Regions from separate parts of the Homo sapiens genome. Here region 2 is linked to region 1. The links are contacts of gene promoters, found by promoter capture Hi-C in blood cells and fetal thymus (Javierre and others, 2016). All regions are on one chromosome and are shown on one strand. Each heading gives the region's core, a stretch centred on a gene start or on the middle of the fragment in contact. The rest is flanking DNA. Distances are from core to core; before and after follow the strand shown.

Region 1 (4,045 bases), core at 196-2,695:
CATCTATAAACTAGGCCCATGTTGTTTCTTCCTGTCAACTCATCATAGGGAACTCTCCATGAGCTTGGGAGAAAAAAGGCAAGGTAGCAGGAACAGGGACCATGGGCATTTGGGTCACTTCTTCATGTAACTTGCTTTTGCCTTCAGGTCCTGCCTGGGCCCAGTCACATACATAACACGTTCTTTGATGATGTACTCCTGCTGTCCACACCCAGCATTATGGCTTGTGGGTCAGATAACACCCAGCTCATGATGGGCAGCTCAGGTCGCATGGTAACTTAATTGACCACGGTAAGCATTCAGTCCCTACTGAAGCCCAGCAGTAGGCCCAGAGCTGTTTCTCAAAAGAGTAGTTATCTGCATAGGATAACAGGTCTTTCTTCAAAATACTAAGGGTCTGCACTGAGATTCATCTATGTGGGCCTGCCAAAGGTTCCAACAGCATCTCTATCTGCCACTGACACTTCAAATACCACTGGATCTGCAAGTTCATATGTCCCAAGCAACAAAGCCGCTTACACAATAGCCTGGACCTATTGCAGAACCTTTCCTATTCTGAGTCCTACTCCAAACTAGCAGCTTTTCAAGTCACTCAGTAAATGGGCCAGAGTAACAAACTCAAATGAGGAAACGTCTTCAAAATCCAAAGAGGCCTGCCGCATGTCATGCCTCTTCTGGTTGTAGGAGGGGGCAGATGCAAAAACTTACCTTAGAAGGGGTATCTCAACATGCCTCATACCACTGGACCCCTAGAAATTTTACTGAGACATGAAAAAGCCTTTGAATTTTTGTTGGATTTACTTCCCACTTCTGACATGCAAATGTCTTACCAATAGGTCTGGAGTAGTTGCTATGTCTCACTCATTAGGTCCAGTGAGCATAATGTCGTCAATGTAATGGACCAATGTGATGTGGAAAGAAAAGGCAATCAAGATTCCTGTGAACAAAATTAGGACAGGGCTGGTGAGTTGATATGCCCTGAGGTAGGACATGAAGGTGCATTTCTAGCCTTGCTAGCTAAAAGCAAACTGCTTCTGGTCGGCCTTATAGACAGGGATGGAGAGAAAGGCATTTGCCAGATCATACCAGGTAGCTGCATACCAGGAACCAGGAGTTGTGTTAATTTGCTCAAGCAATACATCTGGTACTGTAGCTGCAATTGGAGTCACCACCTAGTTAAGTTTGTGATAATCCATCTGTCTTCTGCCCAGGCTAAATAGGCGAGTTGAATGGACATATGGTAGGAATCACCACCCCGCCTTCCTTCAAGTACTTATGGTGGCACTAATCTCTTCAGTCCCTATAGGAATTGAGCATTGCTTTTGGTTTACTATTTTCCTAAGTACAGATAGTTCTAGTGGCTTCTACTTGGCCTTTTCCACCATAATAGCCCTCACTCCATAGGTAAGGAAACCAATGTGTGGATTATTCTGTCAGCTGCTGACTGTATTCTAATTATACATTCTAGAACTAGGGGATAACCACAGGATAGGTTCAGGAATTCACTGGGCCCATTGTGAGATGGAACTAAGCTAAAACTCTGCTGATCACCTGACCTCCATAAGCTGCTACCCTGACAGTAGCACTTTGGATCTCCTGAAATTAGTGTCACTTCAGAGAGCCAGTGTCCACTAGTTCACAAAAGATCTGATTATTCCCTTTTTCTAATGCACAGTTACGTTGGTAAAGGTTGTACATCCCTTTGCGGAGGACTAGGAGAAAGACTAACAGTATAAACATTTGGTTATGGACCAGGGTCCCTTTGAGGTCCTCCCCTTCAATCAAAGGGTTTTGGGCTCTATAAAGTGGCTCAAGTTTGGGAATTAAGGGACCACGATTCTGTTTTTATGATTCGAGTTCAACTTTCGTCACTTGACTTAGAAGTTTTCTGCTTATACAGATCAAGTTAAGACTTCAGTAGGCTTCCTATCTATTTCACGTCTAGGAAAACCATGATCAACTAGCCAAAGCATAGGTCTACAAGTGAGATTATTCTAATTGTTCCTTTGGCTCTGTCATTATGATAACCACTTCACCTTGCCTTTGGTGGTTGAGTCCCATTACTTGACCCTTGCCACCCTGGGATCCTTTACTTCCATTATATTTAGGTTTTCCAGTTCAGTGACTGCAGTGAGCTCTGGCCTACAGAGAAGAGCCATCACAGAGTTCTGAAAAAGATGCTGGAGCTCTCCTCGCAAATTTCTTTCTCATAGTATTGGTGAAAGGTATGCTTTCTTGACCTTCCCAGTGTGGATGAGTAGTTCTTTTTTTTTTTTTTTTTTTGAGACGGAGTCTCGCTCTGTCGCCCAGGCCGGACTGCGGACTGCAGTGGCGCAATCTCTGCTCACTGCAAGCTCCGCTTCCCGGGTTCACGCCATTCTCCTGCCTCAGCCTCCCGAGTAGCTGGGACTACAGGCGCCCGCCACCGCGCCCGGCTAATTTTTTGTATTTTTAGTAGAGACGGGGTTTCACCTTGTTAGCCAGGATGGTCTCGATCTCCTGACCTCATGATCCACCCGAGATGAGTAGTTCTTAAGTGAAAAATCTAATTTCCCAATATTCCTAAACCTTTTAATCCCATCCTCTAGATTAAACCAAGGCATGTCCAGCACTTCCAATTCATCTTTTCCATGTTTTAGTAAGCCAATCAAACTGTGAGCACCCTTTCTAACTCCCCAAGCTGCAATGTTAAATGCAGAATCTTGGCTTAGTGAGCCCATGTCAATAAATTTGACCTGATCCAACTTTATGTTCCTTCCATCATTTTCCAACACCTTTATTATCCATTCCGACATATGTTCCCAGATTTTTGTCTGTATAAATTAGAGACTTTGAGTAACTCTTTGGAGTATAGCACATCTCTTCATAGGTAACACTTTGTTCCTGTCTAGTTTCAGGTCTAGAAGCAAAGAAGGGTGGTGGAGTTGGGTCTGGAGGAGAACCAACATTGTCTTGCATATCAACTGCCTCAAAGGAGGCCATTACAATTTCCTCAGGCAATGCAGTGTTAATCATCACAGACAGGTTGGAGGGTACTATCACTGGAAATGGAGAAGCTGCTTCCAATGGGGTTGAGAAGCCTCTCCACTAGCAAAGAAGACTCATCAGAATTTAGGGGCTTAATGTCCCCAGCTTCATCAAGGTCTTCCCATATGTCCCAATCCTAATTTACAGAATCCCATTTTTTTTTCAGTAAGTGCCCTCCTTTTGACAATAGTCACTCTGCAAGGCTGGAATTCTAATTTGTGTTGTAATTCAGCCAGTCACAGGATGAGATGCTGTGTTTGATTTTCAACAGTCTCAGCTCTGGGGCTACAGGAGATAGGGTTTTCTTCAGGGTGCACATAGAAGCTTTCAGATTATTTATGGAGCACTTGAGCTGGGAATAAAAATCCCTACACTCACTTTTGCACCACTTTATCCAGTGACATTAGAAACAACCAACTGTCCTCATTATACTCATTATGAGGCAGAATAGGTAGTCAAGGAAGTAAACATGCCCTTGGTATGCAGCAACTGTGGCTTACTGCACCACATACTTTAACAAAATAAGCCCCAGCATTCACATTGTAGTCAAGCTAATTCAAGCAAAGCTATCTTCAGTAGGAAATTTCCCTGTATATAGCATATACATTTTGATTTTACCTATCCTCAGCCTGACCCTTTGTTCATTATAATAGTAAAAAACCCACTGCTGGGTGGAGATTTAAGATGCTAATGAGACATGCGATATATGAACAAGCATGTACAGCTACTGCTCTTGTGCACCCAGAGGACCACCCAGAACATGCTTACTAGTAACACCTCTTCCCACCCCCTTATGATTAATCATGTAAGACTCCCAGAAAGGGAGTCTCCCTAGTGCCAGTCTTTATGATCTCATCCTTACCAGCAGCCTGTACTGAATCCTCTCTCTAAGGATGTACTATCTATTGTGCACTTAACTTTCAAAATATTCTTTTTCCTTTGCAATGAATTGTTTAATGCTGCAACTTCTCCACTCTGTGTCTCTTAAGTTCTTTTAGACTAAGAAGACAAGAACAAA
Region 2 (3,800 bases), core at 1,187-3,686, 5.1 Mb after region 1:
TCTTTTTATTAATCTTTCCTAAATGACTGTATAGCTCACATTTGTTTCAATGTTTAACTTTTAGAAGTGTTTTCAGTCTTTATGAGAAGTTTAGTGATGATTCTGTTACCAGAACTATGCCATAGGAATTTAACTCTTGTTAGTATCAATTAGCCTATGGCCAAATTGGTTTCCTTATACATCGTTTTGCTTGAAGTTGCGTTTCCAAGATTTTATTGACAATGTTAAGTGAGGACTTACTGTACAGCGTGGGGGTCAGGTTAGAGCAATGCTATTCAAAGTGTGGTACACAGATGGCTGCTGATCCCCAGACTGCTTTTGGCTTCCAACAAGATATGGAGCAGGAGGTAAGTCAACTGCATCACTAATCATACTGTTTGTAGTTCAGCTGGTATTTTCTTCACAGTAAGACTTTCTCCATGAAGGTAGCATTGCATTGATTTACATTTTGACCCAGGCTGTCACTGCCCTAGGCTTGGACCATTAACAAATAGTTCACTGTAAAGCTGCTTTGAGCAGCTCTGGTTTGGAGCATGGGCTTTGGAATCAGTCAGAGTGGGCTCTACCACTTAAGCAAGTTCCTTAAGCTGCCTGAGTTCCCTAGTAGGACACAAGGAAGAGTGTGGATTCTATTTCAAAAGCAATTCAAAGCCACTGGGAGGTTTCAAGCCCGATCATAAAGTTTCTTGTGAACCATGTTAGAGTTTGGACTTTGTTCAAGGAAAAGGGACCCACCAAAGATTTAAAAGCAGGGGAATGTCAGGATTAGAACTGTATTTTGGAAAGTTTACTCTGGCTGTGGTAAAGATAACAGCTTAGGCGGGACAGGAGGCAAAGAAACCAGCTAAGGGAAGGCATTCTGGTGGTGGAATGAGAGAATAAATGTAAGAATGAGTGAATTCATAGCATTTACTAGATAACAAGCTTCCTTGTGGCAGGAGCCTCACCACCTTTTGCTATGGATGTTCTTCAGCACAAACTTTCAGTTTTTGTGCAAGTCAATTTTTAATTAACATTTAACTGGCAAAAATGACTAGCTAATATAAAATCAAGCTAGATTCTCTGTCCATTCTAGAGAAGTTGAGCCTTTGTGAGCAAGGCTGATCTCGCTCATGATACAGAAGTCTGTCTCTTTTACCTTGTTTACTTTTTTCCTGTTTACCTTCACAGCCACTGATCCTCAAGGTTAGCAGATGAGTAAGTTTCCAATAGCAGCTGAACTGGAGTGATTTCTATCTGGAACCAAACAAATAGCTAGACTCTGTTTGGAATTTCTGCTTCCAGAGTTATCCAGCCACAGAGCCTGTTGCACAAGGCAAACTGGCACTTGCCCAGCATGCTTAATAGAATTCTTAGTACTCTTACCTAGAAGTCCTATTCATTATTTGAGGCCATGCCAGTCAACACCAGCTCAACCAATATCAATGACCAAGTAACAATGAAGACAGCTATTTGTTGAGCACTTACTATGTAGCAGGCACTGAGCTAAGGGATTTACATGCATTTTCTGATTTTTTTTCTTGTCACACAGAATGTTTTTATTCCTGCTAATAGATTCTTTATGATTTGAGATACATTTAGAATGTATATATTTTTATTATACTTTAAGTTCTAGGGTACATGTGCACAACGTGCAGGTTTGTTACATGTGTATACGTGTGCCATGTTGGTGTGCTGCACCCATTAACACGTCATTTACATTAGGTATATCTCCTAATGCTATCCCTCCCCCCTCCCCCTACCCCATGACAGGCCCCTGTGTGTGATGTTCCCCACCCTGTGTCCAAGCGTTCTCATTGTTGAGTTCCCACCTATGAGTGAGAACATGCGGTGTTTGGTTTTCTGTCCTTGTGATAGTTTGCTCAGAATGATGGTTTCCAGCTTCATCCATGTCCCTACAAAGGACATGAACTCATCATTTTTTATGGCTGTATAGTATTCCATGGTGTATATGTGCCACATTTTCTTAATCCAGTCTATCATTGATGGACATTTGGGTTGGTTCCAAGTCTTTGCTATTGTGAATAGTGCTGCAGTAAACATATGTGTGCATGTGTCTTTATAGCAGCATGACTTATAATCCTTTGGGTATATACCCAGTAATGGGATGGCTGGGTCAAATGGTATTTCTAGTTCTAGATCCTTGAGGAATCGCCACACTGTCTTCCATAATGGTTGAACTAGTTTATAGTCCCACCAACAGTATAAAAGTGTCCCTATTTCTCCACATCCTCTCCAGCACCTGTTGTTTCCTGACCTTTTAGTGATCGCCATTCTAACTGGTGTGAGATGGTATCTCATTGTGGTTTTGATTTGCATTTCTCTGATGGCCAGTGATGATGAGCATTTTTTCATGTGTCTGTTGGCTGCGTAAATGTCTTTTGAGAAGCGTCTGTTCATATCCTTTTCCCACTTTTTGATGCGGTTGTTTGATTTTTTCTTGTAAATTTGTTTAAGTTCTTTGTAGATTCTGGATATCAGCCCTTTGTCAGAGGGGTAGATTGCAAAAATTTTCTCCCATTCTGTAGGTTGCCTGTTCACTCTGATGGTAGTTTCTTTTACTGTGCAGAAGCTCTTTAGTTTAGTTAGAACCCATTTGTCTATTCTGGCTTTTGTTGCCATTGCTTTTGGTATTTTAGTCATGAAGTCCTTGCCCATGCCTATGTCCTGAATGGTATTGCCTAGTTTTCTTCTAGGGTGTTTATGGTTTTAGGTCTAATATTTAAGTCTTTAATCCATCTTGAATTAATTTTTGTATAAGGTGTAAGGAAGGGATCCAGTTTCAGCTTTCTACATATGGCTAGCCAGTTTTCCCAGCACCATTTATTAAATAGGGAATCCTTTCCCCATTTCTTGTTTTTGTTAGGTTTGTCAAAGATCACATGGTTGTAGATGTATGGTGTTATTTCTGAGGCCTCTGTTCTGTTCCATTGGTCTATATCTCTGTTTTGGTACCAGTACCTTGCTGTTTTCGTTACTGTAGCCTTGTAGCATAGTTTGAAGTCAGGTAGTGTGATGCCTCCAGCTTTGTTCTTTTTGCTTAGGATTGTCTTGGCAATGCAGGCTCTTTTTTGGTTCCATGTGAACTTTAAAGTAGTTTTTTTCCAGTTTTGTGAAGAAAGTCATTGGTAGCTTGATGGGGATGGCACTGGATCTATAAATTACCTTGGGCAGTATGGCTATTTTCACGATATTGATTCTTCCTATCCATGAGCATGGAATGTTCTTCCATTTGTTTGTGTCCTCTTTTGTTTCGTTGAGCAGTGGTTTGTAGTTCTCCTTGAAGAGGTCCTTCACATCCCTTGTAAGTTGGATTCCTAGGTATTTTATTCTCTTTGTAGCAATTGTGAATGGGAGTTCAGTCATGATTTGGCTCTGTGGTTGCCTGTTATTGGTGTATAGGAATGCTTGTGATTTTTGCACATTGATTTTGTATCCTGAGACTTTGCTGATGTTGCTTATCAGCTTAAGGAGATTTTGGGCTGAGACGATGGGGTTTTCTAAATACACAATCATGTTATCCGCAAACAGGAACAATTTGACTTCCTCTTTTCCTAATTGAATGCCCTTTATTTCTTTCTCTTGCCTGATTGCCCTGGCCAGAACTTCCAACATTATGTTGAATAGGAGTGGTAAAGGGGGCATCCCTGTCTTGTGCCAATTTTCAAAGGGAATGCTTCCAGTTTTTGCCCATTCATTATGATATTGGCTGTGGGTTTGTCATAAATAGCTCTTATTATTTTGAGATACATTCCATGAATACCTAGTTTATTGAAAGTTTTTAGCATGAAAGGCTGTTG

The links. The method cuts DNA at HindIII sites, captures the fragments that hold promoters and counts their contacts. A CHiCAGO score of 5 or more calls a contact.
Region 2: a contact is called between a fragment that was not itself captured here and the fragment with the promoter of HMMR-AS1 in region 1, in 1 of 17 cell types (naive CD8 T cells). The highest score is 6.4, in naive CD8 T cells.

Annotation. Positions count from the first base shown.
Region 1 is chr5:163,492,613-163,496,657 of GRCh38, forward strand. HMMR-AS1 (HMMR antisense RNA 1) reads right to left here and starts at 1,446. Exons shown (of 4, transcript NR_109892.1): 1 at 1,087-1,446; 2 at 831-937. The HindIII fragment of the contact is 5,178 bases long and covers 1-3,349 here.
Region 2 is chr5:168,590,965-168,594,764 of GRCh38, forward strand. No RefSeq gene overlaps it. Among named protein-coding and RNA genes, the nearest start is that of PANK3, 13 kb to the left of the region's middle. The HindIII fragment of the contact is 3,029 bases long and covers 923-3,800 here.